Linked DNA regions of Homo sapiens: all the other regions are linked to region 4. The links are contacts of gene promoters, found by promoter capture Hi-C in blood cells and fetal thymus (Javierre and others, 2016). All regions are on one chromosome and are shown on one strand. The core of a region is centred on a gene start or on the middle of the fragment in contact, and the rest is flanking DNA. Distances in the headings are between cores, read along the strand shown.

What was found. The method cuts DNA at HindIII sites, captures the fragments that hold promoters and counts their contacts. A CHiCAGO score of 5 or more calls a contact.
Region 1: a contact is called between a fragment that was not itself captured here and the fragment with the promoter of EGFR in region 4, in 1 of 17 cell types (endothelial precursors). The highest score is 8.0, in endothelial precursors.
Region 2: a fragment that was not itself captured here is called in contact with the fragment with the promoter of EGFR in region 4 in 1 of 17 cell types (endothelial precursors); the score reaches 5.0 in endothelial precursors.
Region 3: a fragment that was not itself captured here is called in contact with the fragment with the promoter of EGFR in region 4 in 1 of 17 cell types (endothelial precursors); the score reaches 6.9 in endothelial precursors.
Region 5: a contact is called between a fragment that was not itself captured here and the fragment with the promoter of EGFR in region 4, in 1 of 17 cell types (endothelial precursors). The highest score is 5.2, in endothelial precursors.
Region 6: a contact is called between a fragment that was not itself captured here and the fragment with the promoter of EGFR in region 4, in 1 of 17 cell types (endothelial precursors). The highest score is 6.4, in endothelial precursors.

The regions. Positions count from the first base shown.
Region 1 is chr7:55,218,502-55,222,102 of GRCh38, reverse strand. No RefSeq gene overlaps it. Among named protein-coding and RNA genes, the nearest start is that of EGFR-AS1, 31 kb to the right of the region's middle. The HindIII fragment of the contact is 5,489 bases long and covers 1-3,601 here.
Region 2 is chr7:55,263,205-55,266,667 of GRCh38, reverse strand. No RefSeq gene overlaps it. Among named protein-coding and RNA genes, the nearest start is that of ELDR, 9.3 kb to the right of the region's middle. The HindIII fragment of the contact is 689 bases long and covers 1,419-2,107 here.
Region 3 is chr7:54,801,183-54,804,974 of GRCh38, reverse strand. It overlaps SEC61G-DT (SEC61G divergent transcript), which reads right to left. Exons shown (of 3, transcript NR_110040.1): 3 at 6-309. Among named protein-coding and RNA genes, the nearest start is that of SEC61G-DT, 44 kb to the right of the region's middle. The HindIII fragment of the contact is 1,680 bases long and covers 1,492-3,171 here.
Region 4 is chr7:55,017,687-55,021,135 of GRCh38, reverse strand. EGFR (epidermal growth factor receptor) reads right to left here and starts at 2,119. Exons shown (of 28, transcript NM_005228.5): 1 at 1,771-2,119. The coding sequence starts at 1,858. LOC105375284 (a long non-coding RNA gene) reads left to right here and starts at 2,214. Exons shown (of 4, transcript XR_007060329.1): 1 at 2,214-3,449. RefSeq lists an enhancer at 445-1,119. The HindIII fragment of the contact is 3,906 bases long and covers 1-2,975 here.
Region 5 is chr7:54,767,890-54,771,639 of GRCh38, reverse strand. All of the region lies in intron 1 of SEC61G-DT (SEC61G divergent transcript), which reads right to left. Among named protein-coding and RNA genes, the nearest start is that of SEC61G-DT, 10 kb to the right of the region's middle. The HindIII fragment of the contact is 2,924 bases long and covers 1-2,782 here.
Region 6 is chr7:55,191,951-55,195,772 of GRCh38, reverse strand. EGFR (epidermal growth factor receptor) reads right to left here. Exons shown (of 28, transcript NM_005228.5): 22 at 2,932-3,007. Among named protein-coding and RNA genes, the nearest start is that of EGFR-AS1, 4.9 kb to the right of the region's middle. RefSeq lists an enhancer at 2,804-3,689. The HindIII fragment of the contact is 2,073 bases long and covers 501-2,573 here.

The DNA.
Region 1 (3,601 bases), core at 452-2,951, 200 kb before region 4:
TTCAGCGCATGCTGGCATAAGACTGTGGGTCTGATCGCTCTCAGGGAGCCCTGGGTCCTGGTCTACCCCAGAGCTGACTGGTTTTAGTTTGGGGTTGGTGTCCAGGCAGTGTGGTAGCTGATCTCCAGGAAATATCCAGCTGTGGAGGCATTGGTCCCCAGCAAGGTTGACCTGACTTTTCCCTATTGAATTTCTTAGGAAGGTAAAACACTGATGTAGTAGATCTATGCTACTGTGTCCAAAATAGCAGTGTAATATTGCACTTTAAATGTTTCTTCATCTGTAAAGTGGAAATAATAATTTCTGTCTTAGATGTACACTCAGGACAGTGTCTTGTCTATATTAAAACTCTCCCTCTCTCTCTATATAATCACTTATTATTTCCTTAGTTGTAATTCTTTCACTGTTCAATTAGAACTTTACTAAATTATTATATGTCTTTCTTTTGGTTAAGGTAGTAGATGAAGTTTGAAATCATCTTTTATTCTGGAATGCTAGTGGGCCTTTCTCAACTAAGGTCCCAGGAGAGAACTAAGCCCTACAAAAAACAAATAGGTGACCGTTGTCTCTATTCCCCCAAGGATGATGCATAACTAGCACAATTCTAGAAGGGTAGGAGAGAAGGTATTAATTATTTTCAGTAGATTCCTGCATGCATCAGGGATAAATTCTCTTGTGGGACTGAGAACACCCAACACCCTGCTGCTTCAACTCCCTTTTAAAAGCACATTGCAGAGTTGCCAATTAGCCTCTCCCTCTCCCTCTCCCTCTCCCTCTCCCTCTCCCTCTCCCTCTCCCTCTCCCTCTCCCTCTCCCTCTCCCTCTCCCTCTCCCTCTCCCTCTCCCTCTCCCTCTCCCTCTCCCTCTCCCTCTCCCTCTCCCTCCCCCTCCCCCTCCCCCTCCCTCTCCGTCTCCGTCTCCGTCTCCCTCTCCCCACGGTCTCCCTCTCATGCGGAGCCGAAGCTGGACTGTACTGCTGCCATCTCGGCTCACTGCAACCTCCCTGCCTGATTCTCCTGCCTCAGCCTGCCGAGTGCCTGCGATTGCAGGCACGCGCCGCCACGCCTGACTGGTTTTGGTGGAGACGGGGTTTCGCTGTGTTGGCCGGGCCGGTCTCCAGCCCCTAACCGCGAGTGATCCGCCAACCTCGGCCTCCCGAGGTGCCGGGATTGCAGACGGAGTCTCGTTCACTCAGTGCTCAATGGTGCCCAGGCTGGAGTGCAGTGGCGTGATCTCGGCTCACTACAACCTCCACCTCCCAGCCGCCTGCCTTGGCCTCCCAAAGTGCCGAGATTGCAGCCTCTGCCCGGCCGCCACCCCGTCTGGGAAGTGAGGAGTGTCTCTGCCTGGCCGCCCATCGTCTGGGATGTGAGGAGCCCCTCTGCCCGGCCGCCCAGTCTGGGAAGTGAGGAGCGTCTCCGCCCGGCCGCCATCCCATCTAGGAAGTGAGGAGCGCCTCTTCCCAGCCGCCATCACATCTAGGAAGTGAGGAGCGTCTCTGCCCGGCCGCCCATCGTCTGAGATGTGGGGAGCGCCTCTGCCCCACCGCCCCATCTGGGATGTGAGGAGCGCCTCTGCCCGGCCGAGACCCCGTCTGGGAGGTGAGGAGCGTCTCTGCCCGGCCGCCCCGTCTGAGAAGTGAGGAGACCCTCTGCCTGGCAACCACCCCGTCTGAGAAGTGAGGAGCCCCCCCGCCCGGCAGCTGCCCCGTCTGAGAAGTGAGGAGCCTCTCCGCCCAGCAGCCACCCCATCTGGGAAGTGAGGAGCATCTCCGCCCGGCAGCCACCCCGTCCGGGAGGGAGGTGAGGGGGGGTCAGCCCCCCGCCCGGCCAGCCGCCCCAACCGGGAGGGAGGTGGGGGGTCAGCCCCCCGCCCGGCCAGCCGTGCCATCCGGGAGGGAGGTGGGGGGGTCAGCCCCCCGCCCGGCCAGCCGCCCGGTCCGGGAGGTGAGGGGCGCCTCTGCCCGGCCGCCCCTACTGGGAAGTGAGGAGCCCCTCTGCCCGGCCAGCCGCCCCGTCCGGGAGGGAGGTGGGGGGGTCAGCCCTCCGCCCGGCCAGCCGCCCCGTCTGGGAGGTGAGGGGCGCCTCTGCCCGGCCGCCCCTACTGGGAAGTGAGGAGCCCCTCTGCCCGGCCAGCTGCCCCGTCCGCGAGGGAGGTGGGGGGGTCAGCCCCCCGCCCGGCCAGCCGCCCCGTCCGGGAGGGAGGTGGGGGGGGTCAGCCCCCCTGCCCGGCCAGCCGCCCCGTCCGGGAGGTGAGGGGCGCCTCTGCCCGGCCGCCCCTACTGGGAAGTGAGGAGCCCCTCTGCCCGGCCAGCCGCCCCGTCCGCGAGGGAGGTGGGGGGGTCAGCCCCCCGCCCGGCCAGCCGCCCCGTCCGGGAGGGAGGTGGGGGGGGTCAGCCCCCCTGCCCGGCCAGCCGCCCCGTCCGGGAGGTGAGGGGCGCCTCTGCCCGGCCGCCCCTACTGGGAAGTGAGGAGCCCCTCTGCCCGGCCACCACCCCGTCTGGGAGGTGTGCCCAACAGCTCATTGAGAACGGGCCAGGATGACAATGGCGGCTTTGTGGAATAGAAAGGCGGGAAAGGTGGGGAAAAGATTGAGAAATCGGATGGTTGCCGTGTCTGTGTAGAAAGAAGTAGACATGGGAGACTTTTCATTTTGTTCTGCACTAAGAAAAATTCCTCTGCCTTGGGATCCTGTTGATCTGTGACCTTACCCCCAACCCTGTGCTCTCTGAAACATGTGCTGTGTCCACTCAGGGTTAAATGGATTAAGGGCGGTGCAAGATGTGCTTTGTTAAACAGATGCTTGAAGGCAGCATGCTCGTTAAGAGTCATCACCAATCCCTAATCTCAAGTAATCAGGGACACAAACACTGCGGAAGGCCGCAGGGTCCTCTGCCTAGGAAAACCAGAGACCTTTGTTCACTTGTTTATCTGCTGACCTTCCCTCCACTATTGTCCCATGACCCTGCCAAATCCCCCTCTGTGAGAAACACCCAAGAATTATCAATAAAAAAATAAATTAAAAAAAAAAAAAAAAATAAAAGCACATTGCAACTCTTTCTGTTGCTGGTTCCTGTAAGCAATACATTTAAAAATATTATTTGTTTCTTAGGATTTAAAATGTGTTGTATTGAAACGTTGACCCATCATGGCTGAGACTTGGATCAGTATCTCACTTCAGGAAACAGGACTCAAGCTGGGCGCAGGGGCTCACGCCTGTAATCCCAGCACTTTGGGAGGCCGAAGTGGGTGAATCACACGGTCAAGAGATTGAGACCATCCTGACCAACATGGTGAAACCCCGTCTCAACTAAAAAAGCAAAAATTAGCTGGGTGTGGTGGCTGGTGCCTATAGTCCCAGCTACTCTGGAGGCTGAGGCAGGAGAATCGCTTGAACCCAGGAGGCGGAGGTTGCAGTGAGCTGAGATCATGCCACTGCACTCCAGCCTGGCGAGAGTGAGACTCCATCTCAAAAAAAGAAACAGGACGCAGACATACATTCTAGGTAATTCTTGGCTGTCCCTTACGCGGTTGGGTGCATATACTTTGATTAAAGTCCTCTATCATTCCTTTTTCTCTTGCAGCCTAAAATAAAGACACCT
Region 2 (3,463 bases), core at 514-3,013, 250 kb before region 4:
TGAACTCCTGACCTCAAGTGATCTGCCCGCTTCAGCCTCCCAAAGTGCTGGGATTACAGGCATGAGCCCCCGTGCCTGGACTGCCTTTCAATTTTTAAAGGATGTTTACATTCATCTCATTTGATTCAAATATTCGAGGTTGTCAGTATCTGCATGGCTATGATGACAGTGGTCCCTTCAGGGAGGTAAAGGGCCTTGCACACACCCTGGTGTGACCCATGGGAAACTGGGATTGGAAAGCAGCCTTCAGACTCTGAATCATCTTCTTCAGCTTCTTACTTTCTCAGATAAAGAAACAAAAGCCAACAGAGGTCAAGTAATTTTCACAAGGTTATACAACTTGCTTACATAAAAACAAAATCATGGAGAAAATCTGTACGTAAAGATAAACAGTATTTTTCTCAATTATTTTCCTGCAGTTCTTTTATTCTAGTCCAAGGCAGATTTCTGAGCCAATGGGTAAACACGCCTAATGGCTTCTTTTGAGAAAAGTCTGTTCAGATCCTTTGCTTGTTTTTAGATCAGGTTACGTGTTTTCTTGCTATTGATTTGTGTTCCTTGTATATTTTGGATGTTAACCCCTTATCAGCTGTATGGTTTGCAAATATTTTCCTCCCATTTCACAGGTTGTCTCTTCGCTCTGTTGTTTGTTTCCTTTGCTATGCGGAAGCTTTTTAGTTGGATGCAATCCCATTTGTCTATGTTTGCTTTTGTTGCTTGTGCTTTTGCCATCATATCAAAAAAGTCATTGTCCAGACTGATGTCAAGAAGCTTTTTCCTATGTTTTCTTCTAAGACTTTTACAGTTTCAAGTATTGCATTTAAGACTTTAATTCATTTTGAGTTTATTTTTGTATTTGGTGTGACATAAGGGTCTAATTTCATTCTTCTGCATGTGGACATCCAGTTTTCCCAACAGCATTTATTGAAGAGACAGTTCTTTTCCCATTGTGTGTTCTGGACACATTTGTTGAAGATCAATCAGCTGTGAATGCATGGATTTTCTTCTGGACTCTCTGCTCTGTTCCATTGGTCTGTATTTCTTTCTTTTTTTTCCTTTTGTTTTGAGACGGAGTCTTGCTCTGTTGCCCAGGCTGGAGTGCAGTGCGTCACTGGAGTGCATCTCTGCTCACTGCAACAACCTGTTGAACTGCAACAGGTTCAAGCGATTCTCCTGCCTCAGCCTCCCAGGTAGCTGGGATTACAGGCGCCTGCCACAGCCTGGCTAATTTTTGTATTTTTAGTAAAGGCGGGGTTTTGCTATGTTGGCCAGGCTGGTCTCAAACTCCTGACCTCAAGCGATCCACCCGCCTCGGCCTTCCAAAGTGCTGGGATTACAGGTGTGGGCCACCTTGCCTGGCCAATTAGTCTATATCTCTGTTTTTAAGTGACCATCATGTTGTTTCGATTTCCAAAGCTTTGTAGTATATTTTGAAATCAGGTATATGTTTCTAGCTCTGTTATTTTTGCTCAAGATTATTTTGGCTATTTAGCATCTTTTATTATCTTTTATTTAGCTCCATGCAAATTTTAGGATTATCTATTTCTTTGAAAAATGCAATTTGAATTTTGATAGGAATTGTATTGTAAATCACCTTGGATACTACATTTTGACAATGCTAATTCTAACAATTCATGAACATGAAATACCTCCCCACTGATTTGTGTTTTCTTTCATTTCTCTCACCAGTGTTTTATAGTCTTTAGTGTACAGCTCTTTCACCTCCTTCCTTGGTGAAATTTTTCTTAAGTATTTTATTTTTTGGTAGCTATTGTAAATGGGATTTTTTTTCTTGCTTTCTTTTTAGACAGTTTGTGATTGGTATTAGAAACCTTACTAAATTTTGTATGTTGATTTTGTATCCTGTAACTTTACTGAACTTGTTTATTAGTTCTAACAATTTTTTTTGGTGGAGTAGTTAGGATTTTCTGTATATAAGATCATGACATCAAATGGAGAAAATTTTACTCCTTCATTTCTGATTTGAATGCCTTTTATTTATTCATTTATTTAGCCTAATTATTCTGGCTAGGACATCCAGTGCTATATGGAACAGAAGTGGTGAGAGTGGGTTTCCTTGTTTGCTCCTGATCTAAGAGAAAAAGCTTTCAGCTTTTCACCCTTGAGTATGATGTTAGTTGTGGGTTTCCCATATATGGTTTTTATTATATTGAGATGCGTTCCTTCTATATCTAATTTGCTGAGCATTTTTTATCATGAAAAGATATTGAGCCAGGCACGGTGGCTCACACCTGTAATCCCAAGGTGGATGGATCACTTGAGTTCAGGAGTTCGAGACCAGCCTGGCCAACATGGTAAAACCCCGTCTATTCTAAAAATACAAAAATTAGCCAAATGTGGTGGCACATTCCTGTAATCCCAGCTACTAGGGAGGCTGAGGCAAGAGAATCGCTTCAACCTGGGAGATGGAGGTTGCAGTGAACCGAGATTGCGCCACTGCACTCTAGCCTGGCTAACAGAGCAAGACTCCATTTCAAGAAAAAAAAAAAAAAGAAAACATACTGAATTTTGTCAAATATTTTCTCTGTATCTATAGAGATAATCATGTACTTTTTATCCCTTATTCTATTAATGTGGTGTGTGACATTTATTGATCTGTGTATGTTGAACCATCTTTGCATCCCTGGGGTGAAACTCACTTGATCATGGTACATGTGTGTACTATAAAATTCTGTTTGCTAGCATTTTGTTGAGGGTTTTTGCATCTATGTTCATCAGGAATATTGGCCTGTAATTTTCTTTTCTTATAGTGTCCTTGGGTGGCCTTGGTATTGGGGTAATGCTGGGCTTGTAAAATTAGTTTAGATGTATTCTGTCTTCTTCGGTTTTTTTGGAATAGTTGGAGAAGGATTGGTGTTAATTTTTCTTTAACTGTTTGGTATAATTCACCCATGAAGCCATCTGGTTTAGGGCTTTTCTTTGATGGAAGGGTTTTGATTACTGATTCAATTTTCTGACTTATCATTAGTCTGTTAAGATTTCTCTGTTTCTTCATGATTTAGTCTTGGTAGGCTGTTACATTTCTAGCAGTGGGTCCATTTCTTCTAAGTTATCCAATTTGTTGAAGTACAGTTTTTAATAGCAGTCTCTTACAATCTTTTTTATTTCTGTGGTATGCATTGTAATGTCTCCTTTCTCATTTATAATTTTATTTATTTGAGTCTTTTCTCTTTTTTCTTAGTTAGCCTAAGGGTTTGTCAATTTTATGTTTTCAAAAAAGTAACTCTTATTTTAATTGATCTTTTCTATTGTTGTTCTAGTCTTTATTTCACTAATTTCTGTTCTGATCTTTGTTATTTTTTCCTTCTGCCAAGTTTGGACTTAGTTTTTTCTTCTTTTCCTAGTTTCTTGGGATGCAACCTTAGGTTGTTTATTTGAGATTTTTCTTTTCTGATGTAGACATTCATTGCTACAAACATCTGTCTTAGAACTGTTTTTTGCT
Region 3 (3,792 bases), core at 1,082-3,581, 220 kb after region 4:
CAAACTTTTTTTTGAGACATCTACTTCAAAATCAGTTTATTCAAAAGAGATTAACATGTTCACTCCCACCCCTGCCCTACATACTCACACCATCAGTGTGACAGGGAAGGCCCAGGGAAGAAGTGCTCTGTGATCACAGATAGTCCATCGCGGTGAGAGACCCACCTCGCAGTGAGGAAAACAGTGCGTTTTATAGGAGCACAAGTCCCCTGGTAATGTTCATGAAGGTTGCTCTTCAGTGGATCTTTCAGCAAGTGCATACACAAGGATGACGGGCTTTCTACAGTTACAACATGTTCAATCTTCTGACTAGGTCAAGAGAAAAAAGAAAAAACAGACATCCCAGGTTATACGTCTGTCTGCACTGGCAGGATGCTCCCAGCGAGGGGACCTCCAGTTAGGGAAGCTCCCAGCGGGCATTGCCAGGTAAGCAGCTCCTCTTGAAGAATGCAGTCTCTACTGGGTTGTTTAGCTTGTGTGTGCCACACGTTGATACTCTGCCCAAACAACAGCTGTTTTAACTGAAGTGGAATATTCCACGCAACACTGATACAAAAACAAAATAACTCTTCGTTGTATATTTTCCTATGTGGAAAATATAGGCTTTGTCAATTCTATACATGCAGACAAAAATACAGAAAACGTAAAGCCTATTGCATAAATTGGAAAGCCTGTTTATGTTGTGATATATTGTTACATTCAAATTATATAGGGAGTTCGCTGGAAACGTTCATTGCTGAGACCACTTTGTTTCTGAAGAGACCATGTGTGTCCGGAGCTGGTTCCTGCTGGTGGGTTCATGGTCTCACTGACTTCAAAGAATGAAGCCGCAGACCTTCATGGTGAGTGTTACAGCTCTTAAAGATGGCACAGACCCAAGAACTGAGGGGTAGCAAGGTTTACTGTGAAGAACGAAAGGACAAAGCTTCTGCAACGTGGAAGCGTACCTGAGCAGGTTGCTGCTGCTGGCTGGGATGGCCAGCTTTTATTCCTTTATTATGCCCACCCATGTCCCGTTTCTGTCCTATCAGAGTGCCCTTTTTTCAATCCTCCCCACAATTGGCTACGTTTAGAATCCTGCTGATTCGTGCATTTGACAGAGCGCCAATTGGTGTGTTTTACAGAGCACTGATTAGTGTTTTACAGAGTGCTGATTGGTGCGTTTTACAATCCTCTTGTAAGACAGGAAAGTTCCCCAAGTCCCCACTGGACCCAGGAAGTCCAGCTGGCCTCACCTCTCACATGGACCTTGGCAAACCCTCAGTTGGGCGTAAGAGAGGCGATGGGTGTCTCAGGTTGGGCTCCACACCCAGGGTTATCCTGGAGGCAGCTCCTGGGGGCTCAGAGCACCAATTGTTAAATGCACAGCAATTCTATGAGGAAGCTGCTAAACTGTTTATAGCTTGAAATCAGCTATGGCAGGAATCTTTACACAACAAAAGTCAGCAAATGCCGCAAATCAGGGTTGTTGTTGTTTAAATTCAGAAAGCTTATTTACACCACTATGCCACCTTCCAGGCAGAAGAGTGTAAAAGGTGGAGAATTATTACAGGGTGATTGCACTGCTCAGAGGGGTAAGAGACGCTATCCAGAATGCAACAGCATACTGTACCAGGAACATTTTTACAAGCTGCCTGGTAACATGTTTCGGTCTCTGAATTTGGTTGGATTATTAAAGATTCACATCCTGCATGTTTTTATAATTATTATTTCAAATTACAGTAATAATTTCAGCCTAAGAATTAGCTAGCCAACGTTTGGTCTCCTGTATGTCAGAAAACCTTTCCATGACTGGTTACCATGCTTTCAAAGAACATCTAGTGGAGAGGCAGCAAAAAAAAGCAGGCCAGGAAATTGCTCACATGTATTAGAAGAGAAACTTGTCAGCAACCTTGTTGGAAGTCCTAGTCATCTTCCAACTAGTTCTGACTCAGCAAGCCGCTCAGGAGTGCACCCACCAAATGCAGGGGAAGGCCCAGGTAGGTAGTGAGGGAAGGTGCCAGCCTAGCGGGTAGCTCCTCAGCTTAGATTTGAATCAGTGAAAAACAGAAATATGCTCTCCTGACTCAGTCATACTGTGCTAAGGTAACAACCCAAGCGGCTAAGGAGCAAAGTGTGATTTTTCATGGAGAGAAAATATTGACACAAGAGCACGTGTAGGAATTTTCCATTTATCTCACAAATTATCCTGATCTAATTGACTCGGGCATCAAAAAGCCAGTGCTCTGAAGAAAGTTGCAGTCGATAACATAAGGGAGTGAATGAGATAGATTTGCAGACGTCAGAATGTCAAGAAGAATGCCAGGCCTGAAGACCCAGAAGAAGATGTACAATAATTATCTAAACAAGAGAGATGCATCTGAGACTTAGTGAGGGGCACAGGGTCCTTGAATTACGATCCAAGGGCAAATCCAAGAAGGGTTAACGTCGTCATTCAAGTAACTTTATTCCAGGCAGAAATTTCTACATACCAAGAAATGTCTGAGAGAATGGTCCAAACTTACTCGGGGTTGAGGGGGGCGGGGGCGGGTGGGGAAAGTAGTTGTTTTGTTTAGGTGCAAAGGAAAGACAGAGTAATAAACTGAAGCAAAACGTACAAGTGCAGGTGTGAACGAAAGGACTGGAGAAGACCCAGCCTGGAGCATGGCCCCGTGCCAGCCAGGAGCTGCTTGGGTCGGCGTTGCACTGCGTCTGATGAAGAATCTGACTTTGACTGCAAGTGCTGCCTCTTACCATAACCTTCCCTAACGCTGGCCTCTGATGGTTCTGATCTTTGCTGCCAGAGCTGCGCTGAGTTTTCTCTCTCTGCTTTTTAGATTTCCTTGAATATTTTAAAGAAAAAGTTAAAAAAAATAAGATGCTATATCCTGTTCTGAAACATTTTCAGGAAGTCCACTACAAATTGCATTTGTAAAGAAATAATAAGTGTATTCAAAGGACTAGGCATGGTTTTATATTCAGCCCACAGCCTAGCAGAGCCAATAAAACCAAAGTCAAGTCCCAGTTTCAGGTGGAGACCTCTCAAGTCATGACATCCCTTTTAATGATCTTAGGTTTATTTATATACAGGAGGTGGATGGAAAAATGGGGTTTTGTGGATATTACTATTTTTGTTCCATGAGGAAACAGTTTTATATATTCCTTGACTACCAAACAACTGGGCTAAAAGCTTGAAATTAGCAATCCTTGTCATAAAGACAGAAGGATACTACGCTGAAATGGAGGAGAGTTAGTATTTCATTAATTCAACAATTATGGAGCAACTGTTTTGAAACAGTCACACTGTCAGATATTAGAATATGTAAATCAATTAGACATATTTACCACTCTCGAGGGACTGAGGGACTGCTGAGGAAGACATGTGGAAAGGTTGTTACAATCCAGGTCAGTGAGATTTCATGTGAGTAATGCAGGTAATGATCACATGAAATGCGGAGTTACCGAATGCACATGAAGTTCTCATGTCGGAAGGCTAGCTTACTGATGTTCAGTGTCAGCTAGTCATCAGATGTGGAGAAAATCAACTGTGTACTAAGTCTAATTCATTCAGATGAAACATAATAGGAACTCTTTTTTTGTTTGTTTTTGTTTTTTGAGACAGAGTCTCGCTCTGTCGCCCAGGCTGGAGTGCAGTGGCGCGATCTCGGCCCACTACAACCTCCGCCTCCTGGATTCAAGCGATTCTCCTGTCTCAGCCTCCTGAGTAGCTGGGATTACAGGCACGCACCACCACACCTGGCTAATTTTTGTATTTTTAGTAGAGACGGGCTTTCACCATGTTGGTCAGGCTGG
Region 4 (3,449 bases), core at 870-3,369:
CTTTCCTATATTTGGCAATATTGTAACAATTCCAGATGTCCTCAAAGAGCTCTTAGCATTGGCAAGTAACATCTCCGGAGACTTTAACAATCCTTCTTCCGTCTAGTGATCCCCAAATCTGGCTGCCCAACAGATCACATGAAGAGCATTAAAAAAAATCCCAAGTCCAGGTCTTGCCCCATGCCAATTAAATCAGAATGTCTGGGGGCGGGAGCCAGACACTGGTTTTTGTTTTGATTTTTTTTTTTTTAATCCCAGGTAATTCCAATGTGCAGCAAGGTCTGGGAACCACTGTTCTATGCCTTGCCCCTCCCCCAACGACCGCGCTGGGCACCAAACCCCAACTCCCCAAGCCAATGACATCAACAGCAAGTACGGGCCTGGCTCTTGGAACCCGCGCAGCTCAAGGTTGGAATTGTGCAATTAAACCTTCCAAGGCATGTTTCCCCTGTCAAGTGGGTTTATGGTCGGTAGTCACGAAGCCAGACTCGCTCATGTTCTGTCTGCACACTTGGCACACTTGAACCAGGGACAGCAATCCGGTGTGTGTGTGTGTGTGTGTGTGTGTGTGTGTGTAAGACAGGTTTAATATTTTGGTTGGCTCAAATTCTTCAAACAGCAAAAAGAGACATCCAAGAAAGAAAGTCTCCGGGTTTTGAGGAGAAGTTTGCTGTGAGCCCCATTTTGAAACACCATGGTGTTGGCCAGGATGAGCTCTGCTTCCGGGGCTTCCGCTCAAGAGTCCCGCGATCCCCCCCTGCAGTGGCCGGACAGCCGCGTCCCGCTCCACCGCGAAGCCCAGGCGCGACCGAAGGGCTGCAGGTGGAGCAGACCCGGACGTCTCCGCGAGGCGGCCATCGAAGGAGAGCCTGGGGCTTTCGGCGCGGGCGCCCAGGAGGGAGCTGGGGTCCCCGGGAGGTGGGGGGCACTCTTGGATAGGCAAGACGAGGGCGCACCGGGCGAGGCGAGCGGCCGGGGTCTGCGCCCAAGGGGCGGGTCGGACCCCACCTGCCTTTTGCCAACGAGGAAACTAACCGCCGCCAGCACCACCCCTCCCCGGGAGCCGCAGGTGGTGGTAGACGAGTTCTCCCAGCTCCCAGGTCGAGGCTGCGACTCCACACTGGGGAACGAGGATCGCGGGGACCTGGAGAGGGGCCGGGGCCAGGCTGGCGGGCGCCGGCTTCAGTTTGAGACCTGCGCGGAGGGCGGAGGCGGGGAGGTCCTCTCAGAAAGCCGCCTGTCCCGCGGGGTCCGAGGGGAGGCTGTATTTTTGGGTTCCTTCCTCAGCTTCCCTAAACAGTGCAGTCTCGGCGGGTGGGCAGCGCCCGCCCCTCGGGTGCGCGCCAGGACCCCGTCGCGCCCTGGGAAGACAGCGCGGGGCGCACGTGCGGGACCCCGGCCCCAGGCGCCCACCAGCACCCGGCTTTCGCCCACTGACGCCGATCCTGCGCAGCTGGGCGGGGAAAGTGAGGGAAGAAAGTTGGGAGCGGTTCGGGGCGCCGGAGGTCCCGGCGGCCGTTCCCCGCCTGGCCTGCAGCCCGGTGTCCCACGCGTCTCCTCCTCCGCCCGCCCCAGACTCTCCCGGCCGAAGAACGAAACGTCCCGTTCCTCCCGCGGTCCCGGTCGGCGGCGCAGCTGATCTCAAGGAAACAGGAAAGGACGGGCGGGGGCGCGGGCGCCGAGCCGGTGCGCCGGTGCGCGGTTGGGCGGGCTGCGGGGTCCGGGGCGCGATCCGGGGGCGGCGCGGGAGCCGGCGAGACACGCCCTTACCTTTCTTTTCCTCCAGAGCCCGACTCGCCGGGCAGAGCGCAGCCAGCAGCGCCAGGAGCGCTGCCCCGGCCGTCCCGGAGGGTCGCATCGCTGCTCCCCGAAGAGCTCGCTCCGGCTCTCCCGATCAATACTGGACGGAGTCAGGGGGCCGTGCGCGGTGGTTGTGGCGTTGGCGGCGAGGCGGGGACTCGGGCGGACGCCGACGAGGTGGCCTGTCGTCCGGTCTGGGCGGCGGCGGCCGCCGGGGCTAGCTCGGGACTCCGGCCGCCTCGGCCGCGTCGGGCGCTCACACCGTGCGGGGGGCGGAGGCTGCTGCGGCCGCGCTGCGCCGGGGGCTGCCCGGACGTCTAGCTCGCGCGGGCCGAGGCGCGGGGAGGCAGGGCGGGAGGAGGAGGGACCAGGCGGCGGAGGAGGGATCGGGAGGAGCAGAGGAGGAGGAGAATGCGAGGAGGAGGGAGGAGAACCAGCAGCGGGGACCCAAGGCCAGCGGCCGCCGGAGGCGGTGGACAGCGGTGGCCCCCGCGGGACCTAGTCTCCGGCGGGAGTGGGGCGGCGCATGGGAGGGGAGCGGGTGCCCTGAGGAGTTAATTTCCGAGAGGGGCGTTCCCAGCACTGCCCCTCTGGACCCGGTCCCCGCGGACTTGCAGGCCCAGCCTATGTCCAGGTCGAGCCAAATCTGTGCCAGGGTCCCCTTCCCCCTTTCCCTTCTTTTGTTTTACAAAGCAAACTTGTACCAGCTTTAGACAGACTGGCCGAGCCTTAGAGCCAGCGTCGGATAATGGCACCGACGGGGAAACTGCTCCTTTATTCGGGTCCCCACCTCCCCTGCAGCACTACGGGACCCTCTCGGGGATCAGAGGCTGGCCTGGCAGCTGAGGAGGTCGCCGTGCCCGCGCGGCAGGGGTGCCAGGCGTCCGAGGTGGTGCTCTAAAGTCCGAGGGTCCTTCAGATCTTGTCAAGCACCCTCGAAATCATCTGAAATGAGGGCACCCAACTCCGGGTGCAGAGACAGGCCTCCTTAATGTTTATTGCAACCAGCCATGGGTACTTTGAAGCCAATGTGTGAAGCACATTACTTCGCAAAAGTGAAGCTCTTGGAATAAAGGCTTGACACAAACAGCCGTGGAGGTGCTTTTAGAGAGGCTAAGTGTCCCACTGCCCCTGTAGCTCCCGCAGGAGAAATGCCAGGGAAACTCGCGGAAGCTTTGGCCAAAAGAAACTGAGCTTTTTTGGGCTGCAGGAACTTGAGCTATATTCCTTTGGCAAGTCCACCCCATCCCCACTGTTCCTTCTCCTGCAGTAAAAATGTCCTCTAGGTCCATGTTACAGCCAGACCCCTCCTCTCTTCACGAGATTCACTAGGACCTTCAGGCCTGGTTCAACAACCCTGATCTCTCGGCTCTGTCAAAAATCACAATCCTGAAGTAAGTGAAGCTACAGACCTGCCCTTTGCTGTCTCTGAAGGGGAGCAACCTTACATCTTTCCTCCTCATCCAGCAAAATGTTTGTGCCTGGGTCTCGCACCCTGCAGCCTGAACGGTGGGGTTTTTCACCAGGGCAAGCGCAGACAGACACAGGTCTGCTCACTGCCCGCACAACCTGGAACTTCCCTGTGAATTAGGAGAAGTAATCTGTTCCTTTGTTTTAACAAATCAGTACAGCCACTGTGCGTTGAAGTC
Region 5 (3,750 bases), core at 71-2,570, 250 kb after region 4:
TTCAAATATTAAGACAACCTGGCACTTCTAAGAAATGTTCCACCTGATTGTAATATATTGTCCTTTTTATACATAGATGGATTCTATTTGTTAATATCTTGTTAAAGATTTTTGCATCTAGATTCATGAAGAATATTGGTGTAAAGTTTTCTGTATTTGTCTGGTTTTGGTATCAGCATGATGCTGGCTTCAAAAATTGAGTTGGAAAGGGTTCTTTTTATATTCTGAGAGAGGTTATGTTTTATTACAATTACTATTGCTTTTTTAAATGTTTGATAAAATTCACCAGTGAAGACATTTGGGCCTGGGAGTTTTGCTGTAAGAAGGAAATTATGAATTCAATTTCTTTAATACATATAGAGCTATTCAGATTTTCTAGCAACAATTTTTGTTGTACACTTTTTTCATTGATTCTAAGTTATCAAATTTAATGGCATAAATTTGTTTGTACTGTTATTACCCATTTAATGTTTGTAGGACTGGTAGCACTGTCTTTTCTTTCATCCCTAATATTGGAAATTTCTATTTTTTTTCTGATCAGTTTAGCAATAGATTTATCGAGATTGATTTTTTGAAGAATCCTTTTAGTTGTATTGATTTATCTCTGTTGTCTGTTTCTAGGGGTAGCGAATTTTTCTGTAAATAACTAATACATATTTTAGGTTTGCTGGCCATATGATTTGTAAGGCAGCACTAGACAACAATAAGTAAATGAATGAGTGGGACTATTTTCAAATGCAAATATTCACAAAAACAGTGTGAAGCCATATTTTTGCCTGAAAAGTTGTGATTTGCTGACCCTTGTTTTATTAAAAGTCTATCTTTACTTTTTGCTTCTTTCTACTTACTTTGGTGTTAATATTCTCATTTTTTCTAGCTTTCTGATGAAGAAAGTATAATTCCTTGGTTTTGAAGAACATTCCCAATGGATATGGAATTTGAGGTTCATACTCCCTCCTCTCACTCCCCACCCCAACTAGTGGTTTAAAGAGGTGATTCTGCCCTTAATTGCTTCCTATGATATATCTGCTCTTGGTTTTATCTTTAGTCCTCTGTATATATGTGTACTTTTTAAAATTTGGCTTTTTAAGATTATCTTTTTCTACTATGTCTTTTATTTAGGTTTTTTGAGCTTATTGGATACGTCAGTTTATAATTAGTCAAATTTGGAAAATTTTGTATTCATTGATGTCACATTGGCACCTTGAAATCAGCCAGAGTGGGAATATTTACATCATGAAAATTGGCCAATGCTATGGATTGAGGCTTTTTTCTCCATAAAGGTATTTGTTAAAATTTGCCAATATATTTCTGCCCACAGTTCACCAATGTTGGGCTCATTTTCAATCTCCTTTTCTCTCTGTGCTTCTACTATCATAGTTTCTATTGCTGTGTTCAAATTTACTGATCTTTTCTTCTGAAGTTCTCATTGGATGTTACACCTATAGTGGATATTTTTCATTCTAGATATGTTTTTCAGCTCTAGAAGTTCTGTTTGGTTCTTGTTAAAACATTTTCTATTGATTTTTTCATTATGTTTAATTTTCTTTAAATCCTTGGGCTTATTTTTACAAATGATTTTTAAAGTCACTCACTTAAGTCTTTCCTCTCTGCTATCTCTGCATCTGCCTCTGTTGACTGATTTTTCTCCTGGTTACAAGTCTACATTTTTCTGCTTTCTTGCATGTTTTGTAATTTTCAGTGGATGTCAAACATAATTTTTAATTTCAAGTGTGTAGCTTTAATTTTTTCCTTCCTTTTTTTGTATAAATCTTTACACTATGGCAAATTTAGCCCTGTTACTAAGATGCCACCCTCCTGAGGTTTCCACTAAATGTCCCATACAGTCAAGGAGGACTCTCCACCTGGCTGGTTAGAACTCATAGTCTCCCAGCCCTTGTGTCCTCTGCGAATTGTTCATCTTACAGCTCCTGGTCATTGTTAGCCCAGCCTCATGGTGTTGCATCTTACATAGGCACTATTGGTTTTCCTCAATAGATGCAATGGGAGCTCTTTGCAGATTTCTAGAGCTCTTTTTCCATTTAGCACCCTCCTCTATGCTAGTATGCCCTAGAAATTCCACCCATCTCTATCTTCCTGGTCAGTAATAATTACCATTCTCTGCATATAATCTTTTCCCCTTACCTTGTGGCTTTGGTTTGAAAACTGCCTTTCAAGCAGAATTCTGAGGGGGTAGACTCACTTTATTTTTTTACCCTCCCCTTATGAATCATAGTCTTGTATTTCCTGTTTCCCAGTGTCTGAAAGAGTTGTTTCCCATATTTTGTCCAGTTTTCTCATTTTTGGTATTGGGAGTGCAGGTCTTGCTCCAGTTTCTCCGCCATGGCTAGAACCTGAAGTCCTTGTATACTCCAGACCCAACCAATTATCTTCTCTTCCTTCATCGAGGATCTCCCAACCCCTTGGACAGAGCTGTTTTCTGTTTGTTTTTGTTTTTTAACAGAGAGACAGGGCCTTGCTCTGTCACCCAGGCTAGAATCATAGTTCACTATAGCCTTCAACTCCTGGGCCCGAGAGATCCTCCCACTTCAACCTCCTCAGTAGCTAGGACACAGGAGCATGTCACCATGCCCTGCTAGGTTTTATTTTTATTTGTAGAGACAGGGTCTCACTATGTTGCCCAGGCTGGTCTCAAACTCCTGGCCTCAATTGATCCTCCTGCCTCGGCCTCCCACAGCACTGAGATAACAGGGATAACTGAGCCACTGTGCCTGGCCTCAACAGAGCTGTTGACAGCACTATCAGTCTTAGGTGGGAAGCTTTATGAACAATAAAAAGGGAGGAGATATGAAAATCCACTTAATTAATCCCAGTTATAACTGATGAAGCTGGGCATTGTAGCTGGGTGGTCTTTTGTACAGTGAATAAATTATGTCCTTCATTGATACTCAATTCTTAGACTGAACTGAACTAACCTGAGGACTAGGTATTAATTTCCCATTTCTAAAAACAGAAAGTAACCATCCAGGGGCCAGTAAGGGATGGCAGAAAAGCATACAGATAAAATGGGGGAAAAAATGTCTGTCCTGGGAGTTAGGAAACTTGGTTCAAAAGCATCTATATGTATTTTCCTCACTTGCTTCCATTTCTGTCTGTAACAGTAGGCAATTAAACTCTTTACAATAAACCTGCTGGCTCCTTCATTTTTCTACTGTTTTGGTTTCTCTCCCGGCTAGCATTACCCCGTGTTTAGTGGGGTCATCTCGGTAGGCTGGAACAGCTATCCCCTTAAAGGTTAGATCACTCCCACTGCACCAACGAGCACAGGGTAGGTCTCAGAGCAATTCAGGGGAAGTGAATGGCATAGAAAAACAGGACATATCTAATAGCTTCTTGAAATAGTAGAGACATCTCTGTGTTTTCCAGTTAAAAAGGACTCCTGAGTTAAAAGGATCACAAGATGGCAGGGCATGATATTTTAATTCCCCATCTTTTTATTTTTTTTGTTTGTTTTTGTTTGAGATGGAGTCTCGCTCTGTAGCCCAGGCTGGAGTGCAGTGGCGCCATCTCAGCTCACTGCAAACTCCGCCTCCCGGGTTCACACCATTCTCCTGCCTCAGCCTCCTGAGTAGCTGGGACTACAGGCACCCGCCACCATGCCCAGCTAATTTTTTGTATTTTTTAGTAGAGATGGGGTTTCACCGTGTTAGCCAGCCCCATCTTCTTATTAAAACAGCAATGGCTGTGAAGTAAAACAGGCACCCAGAATTCACCTCCTCCAACATCTGA
Region 6 (3,822 bases), core at 288-2,787, 180 kb before region 4:
ATACCGCATGTTCTTACTTATAAGTGGGAGCTAAATGATGAGAACACATGGACACTTAGAGGGGAACAACACACACTGGGGTCTATAGGACGGTGGAGGATGGGAGGAGGGAGAGGATCAGGAAAAATAACTAATGGGTACTAGGCTTAATCCCTGGGTGATAAAATAATCTGTGTAACAAACCCCCATGACACAAATTTACCTATATAACAAACCTGCACATGTACCCCTGAACCTAAAATAAAAGTTAAAAAAATGTCAGGTACTAAAATCTAAAAAATACGAAACCACAATATAGATATAACAAGCATAGAATAAAAACCCTCATGTTTTTCCTTCAAAATCAAACAACTATGATGGTTAAAAACAAGTGAAAGCAGTGATAATTTTAGAACCAGTGTTTTTTCAGACAACCCCGAGTTCTGATGGCCCTCCCATCTCTGGGTAACAGAGGCCATTCCCAAACGGAACCACCTGAATTAATACACAGAATACAAGCTTAACATTGGAAGGAAAGCAATGGTTTGGGGGCAAGAAAATAGATTCTTGTGTCATCCCCTGCCCCCAACTCATAGTCTATATGGATTTGTAAAAGAAAGACTGTCTCATTTCCAGATCTATGCAGTCAGTTTAACTACTATTTAACTAGGTTTTTAAACATGTATGATGAATTCTAGTGGGAAGACAGGTTATTAGATTTTGGAACAAACAGCGAGAGAGAGGAGAGCCAGTATAGCCAGTGTTAGGTGGAGAATGGGCTGGAAGGTGTTGCGAGTTCTCTCTTTTTAGCTCCTTGGTACAACACACTAGGCCCCTAATTTATTAAATTGAATAATTCACCTTGACTAGAGACTAGAGAGTAGAGAAAACAGGATATGATTTTTAAACAAAAAATTCAGGCTCATGGTCTGGTAGTTCCAGTGGGCTGCCTAGGCCAGTGATTATAATCTGCCGTGGCAGCCTCAATGATGTTGAAAACACACAATGTTTTCAGTGGGAACGGACTTCCTGAGAATGGGTGTGACCACATCAAGGCACTAAGCCACTGACTTTGAGAGGGCTTCCACTTGTGCATGGAGTGTGGGCATTGCGCTGGCACACACAGGCTATGCCTGGAGCGTGACGGGAGGGGGACCTGGTGGACGGGAGAGTTGCCAGGGCCAGATGGCCCAGCAACCCATCAGTCATGGCCAGGTGCTCAGGTTTTATCTGAACATACCTGGAGGACCAAAGAAAGATGTTGAGCAGAGAATGAAAAGTCTGATAAAGTTAAAAAATATGCACTTTGGGAGGCCGAGGCGGGCAGATCATGAGGTCAGGAGTTCGAGACCAGCCTGGCCAACATAGTGAAACCCTGTCTCAACTAGAGATACAAAAAATTAGCTGGGCATGGTGGTGTGCGCCTGTAATCCCAGCTACTCAGGAGGCTGAGGCAGGAGAATCACTTGAACCCGGGAGGTGGAGGTTGCAGTGAGCCGAGACTGCACCACTGCACTCCAGCCTGGGTGACAGGGCAAGACTCTGTCTCAAAAAAAAAAAAAAAAAAGTTAAAAAATATATGTGGCCTCTGTCTGGAGCATAGATGAGGGGGAGCAAGTGGGAAGAGGGGAGACCAGCAGGAGACCGGGCTGTGCCTGGAGTGGGAGGGGCGGGCTGCTTGAGGACAAAATAAATGGCTTGGGGCAGGACCCTGCAGTTCCCTCGTGGAGAGGAGATACATTCTGAAAATGGCTGTAAATAACAATGCATCAGCAGACCTTTATTTCCTTATCTGTTCCATTAATTGAGGTGGCTCAGCTCACAGGTGCACACCAAACTTCACTTATTCATGGACACAAATCTCTGCCTTTGTATCATAAATCTTACATTTTAACAGAAGAGATAAAGACTCAGGAAATTTAAAAATGTGTATGTATTTGGAAAATCAGAAAGTTAATAATGCTATAGGAAAAAGAAAAAATACTAAGTAAAAAAGGACGATATCCCAAATAATTTTGCTTTTGTAATACTGACTAGATTATTCTTGGAAATTCATTTCAATAGTGTTCTCCTCAAATACACATTTCTAGAGAGGTGAGGCGACTCCTCCCTTGCTCCTGTCGCTGTAGATGGCTGGGGTAACTTATTTTCCTCAGTGAAGGGGTAGGTTCATGGGTTCCAGCCTTTCAGTAAGTTGCTGGGTGAAATTCAAGGACCAAGTGCGGTAATTCAGCAGAAAATGCCTGGCACAGCGGTCAGAGACAATGTGTCAGCAACACTTTCTCAACATGGGAGGCCCCTGTAGGCTCAGGACAGGGCAGGGACCTAGGGCCGGGTGAGGAGAGCGGCCCTCGTGAGGATGGGTACAGGCCAGTGCTGGGCAACACTGGGATTCAGAAGAGGAAACAGAGAATCCCCAGGGCCGGACCAGATGGTCCTCCCGAGAGCGAGAAGCAAGGGTCATCTCCCTTTCTTCTTTTATCCCTGCAGACATCCTCAGTGTGTGTTTGTCAAGCCGTTCTCTCTGACACATAAGGGCCAGGGTAGTTCATCTTAAGCCTCATTTCTCTACCGGAACTATTCCCCATTAAGCTTCTTCTGCCACCTCCCTCTGGTTCACTTCAAATTCATGGCAACATTAATGGTTTGGTTAACGTTAAAGTTTGGTTGGACTTTGCAGGGAGAGCCGTTTCCTAAGCTCTTTCCCTCCCATACCCCCCACCCTGCCAGACGAGCTCATTGCAATCTCCAGTGACTTTTGGACGGCAGCTGGACTCGATTTCCTCTGCCGTGTTTTCTCAGTACAATAGATAGACAGCAATGATTACATTATCATTAGTCATTATCTCGAAAGAAAATACTTGCATGTCAGAGGATATAATGTAAATTAACTAACAATAAAAGCCAGCTTGGCCTCAGTACAAACTCATTAGCATCAGGATTATGACTCACCGTAGCTCCAGACATCACTCTGGTGGGTATAGATTCTGTGTAAAATTGATTCCAATGCCATCCACTTGATAGGCACCTTGGGATGGTGAGAGATGAGGCAGTGAGACAACTATTAGTTTCCCTCTGTTGGAAAAAGTTAACTCACTCTGGACCTAATTACGAGTGACACACACAGACGAGCCAGATCACCCCAGGACCCGTCCCCCAGGCCCGGCGCCTCCTCCCGGCAACAGGGGATTTCAGTCTGACGGAGTTCAGGGCTGCTCTGGTAGGTTTCTGAGCACCCTCTGTGTCCCAGGCTGCTCTGGTGAGCTGGGAGCCCTGGTTGTGCCCAGTGGCCTCACTCATCCAGGTCTGCGTGTGTTTTCAGGGCCCAGCATCATGGGTTGGTGGCTGCTAGGAGCCAAGCAGGCCAGAGTGAAACCTCAGAGGGGCCTGGCTGTGGGAGGGCATTCGAGGGCCTGACAGGGGACGCGCACCCCTTAGTGCTGTGAGGGTCCCTAAGAGAAACCGAGCCAGTGAAGGGAGAGAAGGACTCCATTGCTGCCTGTCCCAGCCACGAGCCACAGACAGCCCTGGGAGCTCGGGTCCGCATGGGGCCTTTCCTGTTCCTTAGGTGTCCTTGACAGCAGTGGACCACCAAGGCAGCTGTGACCTTTCCCAATTGCGCTATTGAAGGGGACTTATATATCCTGCAGGGAGAGACTGAAACCTAACATTTGCTAATGATCACCTGGGGATAACATCCTCATTCACTGTCCCAGCAAGTACTGTTCCCAAAGCAGCTCTGGCTCACACTACCAGGAGACCCTGGCTGGACCCAGCTGCCAGCAGCAGCTGCTGCGAGCTCACCCAGAATGTCTGGAGAGCATCCTCCCCTGCATGTGTTAA